Regions from separate parts of the Homo sapiens genome. Here region 2 is linked to region 1. Evidence: promoter capture Hi-C in human tissues and cell types (Jung and others, 2019). All regions are on one chromosome and are shown on one strand. Each heading gives the region's core, a stretch centred on a gene start or on the middle of the fragment in contact. The rest is flanking DNA. Distances are from core to core; before and after follow the strand shown. Region 1 holds the start of CABP5 (calcium binding protein 5). Region 2 overlaps PLA2G4C (phospholipase A2 group IVC).

Region 1 (2,758 bases), core at 20-2,519:
TGATCCACCTGCTTTGGCCTCCCAAAGGGCTGGGATCACAGGCGTGAGCCACTGCCTGGCCTTTTTTATTCTCTTTTTTTGGTGATCTTAAAGCCTAACAATGAAAAGTATGCCCACATATCTGGACAAGTTGGTATATATGGAAAAATAAAAAAATTTTAAAAAGCATGCCCACAGGAATCAAGCAAACCCGACCCTGCCACTTACTTTTTTTTAACGAGACAAAGTCTCACTTTGTTGCCCAGGCTGGAGTGCAGTGGCATAATCAGGGCTCACTGCAGCCTCCACTTCCTGGGCTCAAGCGATCCTCCTGCCTCAGCCACCTGAGTAGCTGGGACTGCAGATGCATGCCACCATGCTGAGCTATTTTTTTGTATTTTTAGTAGAGATGGGGTCTTGTGTTTCCCAGGCTGGTCTCAAACTCCTGGACATAAGTGATCCTCCCGCCTCTGCCTCCCAAGATGCTGCGATTCAGGCATGAGCCACTATACTTGGCCGACCCTGCCACTTACTAACTGTGTAAGCTTAAGGCAAATGACTTCATGACTCAGAGCTTCACTTTCCTCACCTGTAAAATGGGAATGAAAGTCACTGACCTCATGAGTTGTTCTGAGGTGTAAATAACATCAGGTGTGCAAATCCCTTTGCACAGGGCTGGGCACAGAACAATGACTTAATAAGTGGCAGCTATTGTTATTAACGTCATCATTATCATCACCACCACCACCATCATCACCACCATTATCACAATGAGCATCCATAGAAAAGAATGATGGTAATCTCAACAATGACATCATCCCACTTTCCCTTTTCATTTTTCTTCCTTTTCTCTCCTTCTCTTTGCTCCTGACTTTTGATTTTACCCCCACCCATTTATCTCACTGGCTTACATGACCCCACCAGGGTCCTTGGAATTTCTTATACCTTCTCAGCTCCTGCTCTATCCACCTGTTCCCCTGGTTCTGTGGCACCATCATGTCCCCTTCTTTGTCCCACACCCCTGCTCCCTTTGCCCCGCCCACCGCCCTTCCCCCTCACTCCCCACCTCACCCGCTGTTTCTCAGCAATGCCTTTCCTCAAGAAGATGCAGGCGGGGCCCATGGGGAACTGCATGGAGGGGTGGGGTGGAGCTCGCAGGGCACCAGTCTCAAGATGGCCCCTCCTCCCTGCTCCCTGTCGGAGCTCAGCCTCCTTATCTTCTCCAGCACTCCTTTGCCACCTCTTCCTGCCTCTCTTGGCTTCTCCTTCGGTCCCGGTGTCTTAGAGCTGTGACAGCTGGGCTGGAAATCTCTACCCGGGTTGGGGAGGGACCAGAGCTGTCCCTGCCTCCCCATCTGGCTTGAATGATATGGGTGGGGAAATGCAGAGTCAGGTTCTGTGACGCCTTTATCCCCAGAGTGGAATTGGAAAGTGCATTTTATAAATGGGGATTAGAGGCTGGATGTGGTGCTCATGTCTGTAGTCCCAGCGCTTTGGGAGGCTGAGGTGGGAGGATTGCTTGAGCCCAGGAGTTTGAGACCAGCTGAGCAACATACGGAGAGGCTGTCTTTACAAAAAATAAAAAAATTAGCCGTGCATGGTGGCACACACCTGTAGTCCCAGCTGCTCCAAAGGCAGAGATGGGAGGATTGCTTGAGCCCAGGAGTTCAAGGCTGCAGTGAGCTATGATTGTACCATTGCACTCCAGGCTGCAGTGAACTACGATTGCACCATTGTACTCCAGCCTGGCTGACATAGTGAGACCCTGTCTCGAAAAAAAGAAAAAAAAAGAAAAAAAAGAAAAGAAAATGGAGGATTAGAGCAGACGGCATCATTTATTCAATGTTCCAACAAGCATGTGAAGGGTCACTCCAACACTGGCCTCTGGGCAGTGAGATGGAGAGCTCAGCACCCCTGGCCTCAGGGAGTTTTCCTGGGTGAGTCGGGAATGTGTGAGAGTGAGCAGGATGCAAGCATGGACTTCAGGAAGTGGGCGTACACGGTGACTAAGAGCATGGCATTTGCTCTTCCTCTGTTCATCTCTTTCCTTCTGTCTTTCCTGAATGATTTAGAGGGAAAAAGCAAGGTGGGGGTGTCAGGGAGGGTGTGAAGTTATGGTGGTGTCAAAGCCCAAAGGGGTTTTGCGACTCCACACTAGGTAGGGTTAGGGGAGGAGGGGGCTGGGGGCCATCTGGCGTGGAGAGCCAGCATTCCAGTGGGGTAGTGGGGTGAGGAGAAGTCCACATAGAGGGGCAGCATGACCCAGGGTGTTGGGGCTGGAGATGGTGGGGATAAATCCACAGATGGGCAGCTTGGTGTGCAGTGTTGGAACATGAGCTGAGTGGGGCGGGGGCATTTATATGCAGGCATTGTCTGGGGTGGAGGTTTGCACTGTAAGGCAATTAGGAAGGAGGCCACATAGAGGGGATCTGGCATGGGTTGTCATAACCCAAGCAGAGAGAGAAATGTCCACTCATGGGAATAGCATGGTGTATGGTGTTGAAGCCAGACTAGGCTGGGAAAGACATCCCCACAGGGGTGAAATGGCAAAGGAAAAGGGAAATTGGCTACACACAGTGAGTAAGGGGAATGGGGGCCAGGTCTCCTACTGTTGGAAAAGGGAGTTACTAAGACAGAAAGGAGGAAAGTCGAATGAGCCCTGTGGTGTTGGACTATAACTGGAGGCGTTGGTATGTCCTCATGGATCTCAATTATACATAGAGAGATAAAAATAAACACATAGTTTCAGTGTGTATAGGAACATTTGTACACATATTCT
Region 2 (2,700 bases), core at 153-2,652, 39 kb after region 1:
AGTTCGAGACCAGTCTGAGCAACATGGAGAAACCCTGTCTGTACTAAAAAAATACAAAATTAGCCAGGCATGGTGGTGCATGCCTGTAATCCCAGCTACTCGGGAGGTTGAGGCAGGAGAATGGCTTGAACCCAGGAGGTGGAGGTTGCGGTGAGCAGAGATCGCTCCATTGCACTCCAGCCTGGGCAACAAGAGTGAAATTCCGTCTCAAAAAACAAGAACAAAAACAAAAAAACACTACACATTGGGGCCAGGTGTGGTGGCTCATGCCTGTAATCCCAGCACTTTGGGAGGCTGAGGCGGGCAGATTGCTTGAGCTCAGAAGTTCGAGACCAGCCTGACCAACATGGCAAAACCTCATCTCTACTAAAAATATAAAAATTAGCCGGGCATGGTGGTACGTGCCTGTAATTCCACCTACTAGGGAGGCTGAGGCAGGAGAAGCACTTGAACCCAGGATACAGAGGTTGCAGTGAGACGAGATCTTGCTACTGCACTCCAGCCTGGGCAACAGAGTGAGACTGTCACAAAAAACAAAACCAAAAAACTACATATTGAATGCAACATACTCTAAAACATACACTGATGGGTGGACTACAGTCTCAGAATTTACTACTACATAATTCATCGTGTAACAGAAACCACTTGTACCCCAAAAGCTATTGAAGTAAAAATTCAAAAAAAAACAAAAAAATCTTAATATTTAAAAATATTATTACCTAATAGTAGCAGTGTTGATCCTTATAATTAAAATATTGTACATGTTATAACTTTTTACTTGAGACCAAATCAAAATTCAATTTTTCCACATGTGCTGAAAATGCGATAGAAAGCTAAGTCCTGATACACGTCGGTTAGGTCAAGCTTCTGCTTCATCTTTTTCAAATTTTTGAATTGTCAATAAATAAATTTTGTCTGCTTTTTTTTCTTTTTCTTTCTTTCTTTCTTTTTTTTTTTTTTTTTTTTGAGACACAGTCTCGATCTGTTGCCCAGCCTGGAGTATAGTGGTGCGATCTCGGCTCACTGCAACCCCTGCCTCCCGGGTTCGAGCAATTCCCCTGCTTCAGCCTCCCGAGTAGCTGGGGTTACAGGCGCCCGCCACCATGCCCAGTTAATTTTTATATTTTTAGTAGAAACGAGGTTTCACCATGTTGGCTGGGCTGGTCTCGGACTCCTGACCTCAAGTGATCCACCCACCTCAACCTCCCAAAGTGCTGGGATTACAGGCGTGAGCCACTGTGCCCGGCTTGCTTTTTCTTTCTTTCTTTTTTTTTTTTTTTTGAGACGGAGTCTCGCTCTGTCGCCCAGGCTGGAGTGCAGTGGCTCGATCTTGGCTCACCGCAAACTCTGCCTCCCAGGTTCACGCCATTCTCCTGCCTCAGCCTCCCGAGTAGCTGGGACTACAGGCGCCCGCCACTACGCCCGGCTAATTTTTTGTATTTTTTAGTAGAGACGGAGTTTCACCATGTTAGCCAGGATGGTCTCGATCTCCTGACCTGGTGATCCACCCGCCTCGGCCCCCACAAAGTGCTGGGATTACAGGCGTGAGCCACCGCGCCTGGCCCTGGCTTGCTTTTTCTAACAATACAAGACATAATAAAAATAATATTGACATTTAAGAGGACACTCCCATGTGTCAAGCTTTGCTCTAAGTACTTTACATACATGAGGTCATTTAAACCCCACATCAAATAGTACATAGTCCCAATCTTGTATATTTGATGTATATTTACATTTATTTGATATAAATATACAAGATTGGGGCTATGCACTATTGTATCCATTTTACAAAGGAGAAATTGGGTCACAGAGAATTTTGTTGTTGTTGTTGATTTTCTTTTCTTTTTTTTTTTTTTTTTGTTTGTTTCATTTCTTTTTTTTCTTTTTCTTTTTCTTTTTTCTTTTTTTTTTTTTGAGACTGTGTTTCACTCTTGTTGCCCAGGCTGGAGTGCAATGGTGTGATCTCAGCTCACTGCAACCTCCACCTCCTGGGTTCAAGCGATTCTCCTGCCTCAGCTTCCCGTGTAGCTGGGATTACAGGCATGTACCACCACGCCCGGCTAATTTTGTATTTTTAGTAGAGATGGGGTTTCTCCACGTTGGTCAGGCTGGTCTCAAACTCCTGACCTCAGGTGATCTGCCCACCTCAGCCTCCCAAAGTGCTGAGATTACAGGTGTGAGCCACTGCGCCCGGCCCCTCATTTCTTTATTTTTTAATTTTTTTCACAGAGAATTTAAGCAGCTTTCTAGGGTCACTAACGCATGAGAGGTGGAGCTGGGATGTGGATTCAGGCAGACAGGCTTTGGATCAGAACCACCATACGATTCCCCTATAGATCCCTGTGTCTGCACTCACCAACCAGTTACATAGGTGAGTCACGCATCCTTTCCATGACCCGGTGGCTCTCAGCAAAATGGAGGGGACAACAGCATCCACTTCTTCAGGTCATTCAAAGGGTTAAATGATGAACAGGTAACGAATGCCAATTTTGTGTGTGTGTGTGTGTGTGTGTGTGTGTGTGTGTGTGTGATGGAGTCTTGCTCTGTTGCCCAGACTGGACTGTAGTGGTGTGATCTTAGCTCACTGCAGCCTTTGCCTCCTGGTTTCAAGCGATTCTTGTGCCTCAACCTCCTGAGTAGCTGGGATCACAGGCGTGCACCACCATACTTGGCTAATTTTTGTATTTTTAGTAGAGACGC

The links. Contacts are between HindIII fragments. The study calls those that stand out against the background at their distance.
Region 2: a fragment that was not itself captured here is called in contact with the fragment with the promoter of CABP5 in region 1 in 3 of the 25 tissues and cell types used here (H1 embryonic stem cells, aorta and hippocampus).

Annotation. Positions count from the first base shown.
Region 1 is chr19:48,042,810-48,045,567 of GRCh38, forward strand. It overlaps CABP5 (calcium binding protein 5), which reads right to left and starts at 1,270. Exons shown (of 6, transcript NM_019855.5): 1 at 1,051-1,270. The coding sequence starts at 1,113. The HindIII fragment of the contact is 5,918 bases long and covers 1-2,758 here.
Region 2 is chr19:48,081,551-48,084,250 of GRCh38, forward strand. All of the region lies in intron 10 of PLA2G4C (phospholipase A2 group IVC), which reads right to left. Among named protein-coding and RNA genes, the nearest start is that of PLA2G4C-AS1, 22 kb to the left of the region's middle. The HindIII fragment of the contact is 3,491 bases long and covers 1-2,700 here.